3 separate regions of the Homo sapiens genome follow, and regions 2 and 3 are each linked to region 1. The links are contacts of gene promoters, found by promoter capture Hi-C in human tissues and cell types (Jung and others, 2019). All regions are on one chromosome and are shown on one strand. Each heading gives the region's core, a stretch centred on a gene start or on the middle of the fragment in contact. The rest is flanking DNA. Distances are from core to core; before and after follow the strand shown. Region 1 holds the start of TRPA1 (transient receptor potential cation channel subfamily A member 1). Region 2 holds the start of LOC124901962 (a long non-coding RNA gene). Region 3 has its middle 62 kb from the start of TRPA1.

Region 1 (3,138 bases), core at 584-3,083:
ACATGGGTGATTTTAGAAATTTAAAATTTCTTCCTGTACCATATTAATTGTAAAGATACTATTCCAGTGGTTGAAATCTATTTATGACTCAGTTCTCTGGAGTAAGCCAAAAGACCACAGTTATCATGCTAACATTAAGAAGGACAAAAAATGTCTGTGGCCAAACCGGACATGTCAACAGACTCACCTTGGGAGGCCTGGCTACTTGGTGTGTGTGATTAACTATACATGCCTGACTCACACACACAATTGGCAATAGTGCCAATTCCTGCAACCTGCTTAGAGAGCAATTTGTCAATTTCTACCAAAATTAAAGCTGTACATACCTCTTGACCCTGCTAGGACTTTGACATACAGACATATCCATAAAGGTACCAAGGGACAGACAGACAGAGAAGCTACATCTAAACTCACAGACATACTCTGTCACATGTGTAACAGCAAAACAAAACAAACACAAAACAGCTTAAGTGTCCATCAGTGCAACACTGGTTAAATAAATCATGATCTAGTCATACAGTGGAATATTATGAAGCTGGTAAAAAGAGTGAGGTAAATCTACAAGTGCCAATTTGAAATGTATTCAAAAATACATTTTGTGAGTAAATCAGAGTGGAAATCTGTGAGTTCTTAACTTTGCAAATAAAACAAGATCTATTAGCATGTGTGTTTTTGTGTAAGCATTTTTTTTAACCTGGAAAATTCTTAAGAAACTGTTAACATGGTCCCTCTGTCGAAAGAGATTTGTGATGAGGGTTTGGAGAGACCTTTTTAATGATGTCTCAACATTTTAAAAGAGCCCCTTTCTCCTGCTGACAATCTGATGAAATCCAGTGGTGGGCTCTGAGCACCCAACAGCCTCTATCCCTTAGACTAAGCCATCAGGTAGTAGCTAGTGCTGCCTTTAGGTCCGATAACTGCATAAGTAATAGAAGTGCCCATCCTAGAGCCTCAGGTCACTCACCCATCTTCAAAAGGTCACCTCCCCCACAGCGTTTCCTGAAGCTCCTACCCCTGGAGAAGGAATTTGCCACTCCTGCCTCCGTTTTATTGGGGACATTTTCTGCAACGCTCTAAGTGCAGACAATTGGTTTATCTGTTTCACTCTGTTAGACCAGAAGGCTTCTCAACCCCCAGAACTCTTAAATAGTTATCCAACGACTACCAGATACAGTCATTCGGCTATTTGGTTCTAAACAAAATCTACGGAAAGGTCCAAGTGAAACGGCACACATTCCAAATTGTCCTGATTTTAGGCAGCTGCCCGATCTTGTGCCAGATGATACAGATACTTTTTGAGTAGGTTTCCCTGGACTGCAGTTGCCCGTCCAGGAGCAAGAATTCGGTTGGACAAACAAGCAAACAAAATAGATAAAGCAGGCGCTGTGTGGGCGCGTCATTAGTAGGGTCACCTCTTGGATTGTGCACACACCCCAAAGCTTGCAACCCCCACGCTTTCTCCAAACCAAGGGCTGCCCCCAAGGAAACCTCCAGCCGACCCCCGCCCGCACGTCGGAACCCCTCCAGACCCGCGAGCCCCCAGAGTACCTTAAGCGATTCCTTGAAATCCTCCGTGTCGTCCGGCACATCCTCATAGACAACGCCCTGGGGCTCCTTCTTTTCTCCAGGGCGCCACATCTTCCTCAGGCTGCGCTTCATTGACCCCACCCCGGACGCCACCTGGTGCAGCTGCTCACCACGCGCGCGGGCACCTGGGGCGAGAGAGCGCTGTCAGCCTGCCAGGCGCTGGGGTCCGCGCGAGCCCGAGCTCTCCCGCGCTGCAGCTCACAGGCAGCGAAAAAGTCGCTCTGCGGAAGCCCTGGAGAACTTCTGGAAGGAGTTCTCAGGCCCGCGCTACTTTTGTAGTGCAGGAAGCAGGCGGGGCGCGGAGAGGAGGTAGAAACGCGGAGCTCCTTCGCAAAGAGGGCGGCGGCGCCGCGTCTGCCTTGGACTCGCCCCTTCAGGGACAAAGTGACTCGCCCGTCCCGCTGTCCTGCAGCTGCAGCAGCGCACTGACGGAGTCAAGCGTGTCAGGTCGGGGTGGATTGCAGAGAATTTGTTATAATAAACTAAGAGGCCCCTTGCCCTGCCCCCCAACCTTGCATGTGAGTGTGTGTGTGTGTGTGTGTGTGTGTGTGTGTGTGTGTGTGTGTGTGTTGGGTGGAGGGTGGGGGGTGTAAAGAGAGAGGAAGAGGGAATGACTGGGTATATTGGAAAGATTTTTAGTTTTCAGGAGTTTTTTCTAACTAAAATCCTACAGACCTGTGTTTCCCACCACGTGCACCTTCTTCTGGCGGCCTCTTTGATTTGGAAATAACGTTTTTAACAAAACTTCTCATTCCAAACGTTTGGGACAATAGCTACATCCTAGCACTGGTTTGAGGGACTAGATTAAGTCCCTGTGAATATCAGGTCTCATTTCCTGTGGATAATAACAGTGATCCCCCTCACACTTTGGTGTTTAAGGGTGGTTAATAAAAAGGTGAGGTTAAACGTAAGCCACTGCTGACTGGTGCAAGTTTGTTTGCCCCCAGCTTCATTTGAGAGACTTATATTTATAGGACTGCTCTTCATTAAGTGTCAATCGAAGTGTCTCAATCGAAGAGGCTGGTTCTACTTTTACGTACAGACAAGGGAACTGTCTGGTACAGACAAGGGAACTGTTGCCGTAAGTTCAGGTTTACAAGGCTAGAACGCAAGAAACCTTTCTAAGGCTGATTATACCTTGCACAGGACAGAATGTAGCTTTGACAGTCTTTTGCTTTGACAGACGGTGCTTCCTGAAGGCCCTGGATTGTCGTATTCACCTGCTCATCTCCAGCACTTAACTCAAGACCCCCGTGGATCCAGGAACTGGCATAGGTGCACTCAGCAACGGTTTGTGGACTCTCTGACCTAGGGGCTGTGGTGGGCTGAGCTTAGGGCTAGGCAGAGTGGACATGATGATATTGAGGAACCATGAAAGGTCCCCCTAAATCTTCCAATGGATATGGCAGGTTGCCATCAATTCCACCCCTGGAGTGGAATTCCTTGGAAGGATAATATTGAACTTAACCACATCATGAGTCCATGAGTATGGCTTGCTGGAGGATACAGGTGTTCAACTTCACCTTTGCACTCTTTTCTCATCAGCATCTG
Region 2 (3,531 bases), core at 67-2,566, 36 kb after region 1:
TGTCTTAATATACAGAAATTCTTGATTTTAACATAGTCCCCTTTATCAACGTTTTCCTTTATCTTTAATGCTTTTCATGTAGTATTTTAAAAAACCTTTGCCTACTCCAAGTCACAAAGATGACTTCTTACATTTCTTTCTAAAAACTTTGATATTTTTCCTATCACATATAGATGGATAATCTATATGAAATTGATTTTTATATATGCCATGAGATAGGGAAAGTACATTTGTCCTTCATATGAACATCTAATTAACCCAGCACCATTAAGTTATTTTTGTCAGGTGCATTACTAGTTCAGTTTTGTCATAAACCAGGTGTCTAAATATCTGTAGATTTATATCCTGATTGTGTATTCAATCCTCTTGTTCACTTTGCCTACTTTTACATCACTGTATTAACACTGAATTAATACTGTTGATGGAACTTTAATGTCTTCATCTGTTAACTTCTATATCTAAGATCATTCATGAGTCAACTGTCTGTTTAGAAATTGTTGATTGCATGTGAGACATTTGGTATTAAAAAAAAAAACATAAAGGCTCTAGTTAATGTAAGTCTCCATAAAAGAGGTTCCCCTATTTCCTTTCTTAGAAAGGTAGGTAGAAAGAATGAACATCTCAATTCCATCAGGAATTGTGCCAAGTCAGAGTTGAGTTGCAGTTTTAAGAAGATGCAGTTTAGGTATGATTCATGTCTATTTTAAAGACATGTAATTTCCAGGATCTTAATTGAGATATTTTTGTTGCTTGCTTCCTTGCTTTTGAAACATTGTAGATTGATTTCTGGCATCAGAGATAGTCAATTGACCTCTTTAGGTCCTTATCTCACATGGAATTAAATTTTGGTGAGTATCTTGAGGAGTATTGGCAGGCATATTTTAGGTGTAAAACTACTGAATCTCCCTCTCTGCTCTTTAGAAGTGTTTTGCATTCCTCCTCAGCCTCCTGTACAGACAGACCTAGAACTCACAAAATGACCTGTGAGAAAATTTTTAATGCAATTAAACCCCTTAAATTTCCAATTCATTACTCTAGCTCCACGTAACCACTGAAAGCTTTGCCGGTGTGAATCATTCTACTTTCTACCTCCATGAGATCAACTGTTTTAGCTCCCACATCTATACCTGTGTTTCCATACATGGCTTATTTCACTTAACATATTAACCTCCAGTTCCATCCATGTTGCTGCAAATTACATGATTCAATTATTTTTTATGGCTAAATAGTATTCCACTGTGTATATATACACCACATTTTCTTTATCCATTTGTTCACTGATGGATACAGGTTGATTTCATATCTTAAATATGGTGTAAGGGGGATAAAGAGATGTTGATTAATGGGTGCAAACATACAGTTAGAAGGAATAAATTATAGCAGAGTAGAGTAACTATAACAACAATATAGTGTATACTTCAAAATAACTAGAAAATACCGCAAATATTCTGACTTGATCATTACACATTCCATGCATGTAACAAAATATCACATGTGCCACATAAACATGCACAAATACTATGTATCAATAAAAATAAAAAATAAGTAAAAGGTATAAGATTTAAAAAGCTTGTTTTTTTAATAACAACTTTTTCCAAGAAAAATAAAAATAAGAAAGCATGTTACACTTCCCGTAAATAATGAAACACAGCTTTTAGTCATACACATTTGAATGTATCTATAAATTATCAGAATAAAAAGTCTTTCCCCTTCCAACGTTTCTGGAATGCTACTATTTTAACTTTGCTAAATAATTTTTGGTGTACATAGTTTTGCCTTTTTCCCAAAAGTATAGTGTAATGCAGTAGGACAAAATAGTTGTCAAATACGTTGAGTCATTTATTAAAGTTATGACTCAGCTTTAGAAAGAAAAATTGCAGCTGAGAGCATTTTGGGAGGACAAGGCAGGTGAATCACCTGAGGTCAGGAGTTTGAGACCAGCCTGGCCAACATGGTGAAATCCCGTGTCTATTAAAATACAAAAAATTAGCTGGGCATGGTGACAAATGCCTGTAATCCCAGCTACTTGGGAGGCTGAGGCAGGAGAATTGCTTGTACCCAGGAGGCGGGCTTTGCCATGAGCCATGATTGCACCATTGCACTCCAGCCTGGGCAACAGAGGGAGACTCTGTCTCAGAAAAAAAAAAAAATAAAGACAAAAAAAAAAAAAATAAAGAAACCACAATTCCACACAACACACATATCAGGACATCTGCCACATCTTGGGCACTTTCAGCACAGCCAAGGTTTGCCCTGTATGTGACCTCTGCAATTACAGCTTTTTGGTCTGGAGAAAAGAATTTAAGGGCAATGAAATCATATGCTGAAAGGTGAAAAAAATTGACTATGTCCATCATATTACTTCTTACAAAATGTGAATTTATAAAATTACCAAGAGCATAAAGTATTGAGCAGTTGATGTGGAAGCAAAATATATTCAGAGTCAAATCCTGAAATGAAATCTAAGAGGCCATATCAATGGGTGAGGGGTTTGATTTAGCCATGTCAGGCTATCGAAAAACAAAAGAAAACAGAAACTTTGAAAAGCAGAGAGTGCTCAAAGGTTTTCAAACATTTTTTTTTTCTGGCGGTACCAAACATCTTTCAAATAAAGTTCACTCAGAATCTCAGTATGTATGCACAAAAGGCAAACACAAAATTACTCTGGTTGAAGCAAGTATCAAGGGTCTAAAGCCCTTTTCCAAACATCTTTCAATGTACCACATCAGCCCCTCCAGGGTTGTAATGGAAAGGTACAACTTTACAAAGAACACACTTCATACACTGAGGTGGAGAAAAGAAACACAGAGCAAAGTATGATACTAGTTAGTGTTGAGAGAGTACTAGGGAATGGAGCTACTGCCAAGAGAAGCAGGACACAGTTTGAGAACCTATTGCGTGGTCCAGGAGATTGCTGGAGACTTTGTTCTCTCAGTAGACTCCAGCTCCCACTATCTTCCTAGTTCCTACTTCACTTCCAGGTCAAGCATGTTCTAAAACAAACTTCAATTTGCTTGTATTTATCTGAATTCTTTTAGTGATCTGAGTGACTTTTCTATATTTTACAAAACTGGAACAGATTTCGTCTGTATTTTCTTGGTCACCGATTCAAATGTTTGTCCATGGTAAGGTGTCTTATCCTTGTATCTGTCACTCTATGACCTGAAAAATTATGAAAAATTTAATTAAAGGTGACAGATAAAGTGATATTGTTATAAATAATTTATGATTATTTATTTATTCAACCAACTTCATTTGAGCCAATAGGTCCTTTGTAAATGTTAGGTATACAGTGGTATTCAATTAACACATTGCTCCTGCTGTGATTATTTTTATTATTAAAAAAGGAGAAGCCAGGAGAGAGAGGAAGCAGAGAAATCTTGACATTGGTTCACATTCTTTTCTTTTTCTTTTCCTTTTTTTTTTTTTTTTTTTTTTTTTTTGAGATGGGATCTCACCCTTTTGCTCGAGCTGAAGTGCAGTGGCGCAATCATGGCTCACTGCAGGCTCAACCTCCCGGCCTCAAGCCAT
Region 3 (3,354 bases), core at 562-3,061, 63 kb after region 1:
AGGGGAGAACACGGCTTTTTTGGAACAAGAGTGAGTTGGGGTATAATTTTTTTCCCAGTTATTATATCCCAAGCCAGAGTCATTCATTTTCATGATTTAAAATGTCTCCAAATAGTTCTCTACATTTTTCCAAGGCCAAAATAGTTGCTGTGTTTATTCAAACCACTCCATGCCCATCTAAAATATGTTTGATAAACGTATAGTAAGCTAGATTGATCTTGGTGAAGGAAGGCAGAACTGCTACTTACAGGTGCCACAGGATATGCGTTCAGAGTTTATATACAGCTAATTACAGATATATCCAATTTAAGGTGCTCCTAACAATTTGAAAACATTCTATGATAATTGATTTATAACAAAACACTGGACGCTAATGAAATAACTCAGATTTCATCACCTTATTTCCACTAGAATCTTCATCTTGTCTGCCCACTGCATCCATGATTGCTGTTTGGCTGCTCTTCCCATCCCATTAAGGAAGCAAATAGTTTCCGAAAGTAGTTTAATTGGTGTGTAAGTCAGGAAGCCACTTCTAATTGTAGTTCAATGATGCCGTTTTAAAAGCCACGGTCTGCTGAGGGCCATCCTGGAAGAGAGGGTATTTTATCTGGTAAGGGCGAAGTAGCACATGCGGGAAGCTTTCATTACCGGTGGACTTCTTGAACACAGTAGAGTGGATACGGTATTCTATGATTTCCATAAAACATCTTCCAGAAAGTCACACATAAAAAATCGAAGCAAATAAACAGAAAACCAATTATCAACTACTTCAAAATCATGTTACCTCTAAATCCATAAATATTCTTCCATAATAGAAATGAAGAAGATAAATATATACATTTTTAGAGATTATGAGAAAATTTCCCTTTATAAATGGGGGAAGTATATGTAAGTGATTTATTGTAATTATATAATAATAAACTATCTTTGACTTTCTTGACCATTCTGTTTCTAGGTGACCAGGCTTCACTCCTGCAAATGCCCAGAAAGTAGGGATGCCTGGTGAATGAACGTCTTTATGAGGAAGAGGAAGGTGCTGTAGTCAGTCAGGCTTTGCCAGGCCTTGGTGATATCGAACCCAACATAAAGTCAAAAGAGTCCTGTGATTTGGCCTACCAACTCGGCACCTTCTTTCCATTCAGGGTGTTAGTAATAAAAAACTGAAAAAATGACGCCCGTACTCCTGCTGATGTCCAGCTCAGCAGTTATTAACATATGTATGGTCCCCAAATGCCTCACAGTGAGCCCTGTACATAGTAGTGGCTCAACATATAGTTGTTAATTTCCTGATCTGACCTGTGGTGCACGCCACAGGAGTGTGGTTGATGTGCCACTCCATTCAAGGCACACTTTCATTGGTCTGCGCCCCGCCTTCCCGCCCCAGGTCAACAGAATCTTGAATGCAAATATCTCTAATAGTGCTTAGAATGTACTATAGCAACAGCAAGAAGCAGCTGAGAATGACTGACCTCACTGCATGAAATGAGATTGATGGACAGTTCTCTATGCAGTTACCTTAACTATGGATAGAAATAAGGTAGATAGAGGAATAGACAAGTAAATATGAGTAGAAATAAAGCAATTAGAATTAATTAAAATGTTTCTACCTATTATTTCTTTTTCTTTCTCTCCATACAATACTTAATAAATGCTATACAATGATGTTCTGGTAGTTAGTTTTTAATTCTTCCCAAGGAACTGAAGAAACAGGTGTGTTGGTTTCCTAGGGCAACCATAAACAAAGTGCCACAACCTGGGTGGCTTAAACAACAGAAATCTATTGTCTCACAGTTCTGGAGAAAAGAAATTCAAAACTTATTCTGAGACGTTGGTAGGGTTGGTTCCTTCTGAAGGCTAGGAGGGAGAATCTATCCCATGCCTCTCTCCTAGCTTCTGGTGGGCTGCTGGCAATCTTTAATGGTCCTTCATTTGTAAAAGCATCACTCTGATGATTTCTGCCTTTCCCTTTACATTGTGTCCTCCCTATGTGATGTCTCTGGGTCCAAATTTCCCCTTTTTATAAGAATGCCAGTCATATTAGATTAGGGGCCATCCTACTCCAGCAGGACCTCATCTTAGCTAATTACGTCTGCAATGACCCTATTTCCAAATAAGGCCTCTTTCTGAAATATGGAAAGTTAGGACTTTAGCCCACATATTTGGGGGGACCACAGTTCAACCCATAACAGCAGATATGCTTAAGCAAAGTGTTCTCACCTTTCCTGTGCTACATTGTGTCCAGATCCCACTGATACTTCACTGTTTGTCTTACGCTATTCTTGTCCTGTGTAAAAGTGCCCTGGGATGGTTATTACTTTGCTAGGGACTTCATTGTAATTGATAACTCTAGGCCAGGCAAATGCCAGGCTTTAAAAGTAGTCTTCATCAATTCTGTGTAAAGGAGGTTGCCCTTCAGCCATGCTGTCTGGGTGTCCACCGCCTGTCATGTGTTAGGTGAAAAAGACTTCTCTAGGTGGTTGTGTCCTGTGAGAGCTCTTCTCTGTGTCTTCCTCTGCTTTTTTGTCCCAGTGTTGTGCTGGCTGCCAAGGGTAACGGCCAGATTGATGTGGACAGGCTCCTTCACTGCCCAGAAATGCACTCTGATAGGTGTACTGACCTTGATCATTGACCATGGACTTTTAACATTTTACAGCGCTACACCCAGCCACATGGTCTGCATGGACGCTATTCAGTAAAACTGCCAGATTGGTCATAACCCTTTGATTTAGACATTTAAAACTAAGTTTCTCATTCACCTTGCAAAGGTGCCACATTCCCCGATTTGTCACTAAGCATGTAAGTAAAAATAGAAATTCAAAAACTTTACAAAGCTAGGTTAACGTATGTCCCTGGGCTTCCCTTTATCTATGTAACCTATGACCCTGTCACAACTAAAAGTAAAATTGCTTACGTATCATATTCTTCCCAAAAGCTTCTACTAGCTGGATGTAATGAAAGTTTAGTTTACATTTGTCATTTAGGTAATAATCAATAATATTTATTAAGCTCACACTAAGTTAATAATTAAATAGTAGAATTTCAATTATCTAGACTTCTTGGAGGATAAGTCAATCCAGAGAGCTGAATTTCTGGATGACTATTATCATTTTCACCCCAACATAAAGAATTAAGTAAATAAATAACCTTTGGATATAATTTTTTCCTGACTAACTTTTATGTTTTGACACTTACTTTAAAAACCACTTACTTACTTTTTTATTAAAAATATGTTCTTAACATATTCTTTTCTGAATTTTATTATAAATTTTATTATAGCCCGTATCAATCAAAATATATGACTATTTGCCCCTACGCTAATCAACAAAACTTCCATTTCTTTTTTTCAGATGTTGG

The links. The method cuts DNA at HindIII sites, captures the fragments that hold promoters and counts their contacts. A contact is called where the count stands out against the background at its distance.
Region 2: a contact is called between a fragment that was not itself captured here and the fragment with the promoter of TRPA1 in region 1, in 1 of the 25 tissues and cell types used here (H1 embryonic stem cells).
Region 3: a fragment that was not itself captured here is called in contact with the fragment with the promoter of TRPA1 in region 1 in 1 of the 25 tissues and cell types used here (H1 embryonic stem cells).

The regions. Positions count from the first base shown.
Region 1 is chr8:72,073,751-72,076,888 of GRCh38, forward strand. TRPA1 (transient receptor potential cation channel subfamily A member 1) reads right to left here and starts at 1,834. Exons shown (of 27, transcript NM_007332.3): 1 at 1,549-1,834. The coding sequence starts at 1,659. RefSeq lists an enhancer at 1,639-2,210. The HindIII fragment of the contact is 6,537 bases long and covers 1-3,138 here.
Region 2 is chr8:72,110,320-72,113,850 of GRCh38, forward strand. It overlaps LOC124901962 (a long non-coding RNA gene), which reads left to right and starts at 3,445. Exons shown (of 2, transcript XR_007060963.1): 1 at 3,445-3,531. The HindIII fragment of the contact is 4,383 bases long and covers 1-3,508 here.
Region 3 is chr8:72,136,383-72,139,736 of GRCh38, forward strand. No RefSeq gene overlaps it. Among named protein-coding and RNA genes, the nearest start is that of TRPA1, 62 kb to the left of the region's middle. The HindIII fragment of the contact is 3,795 bases long and covers 1-3,354 here.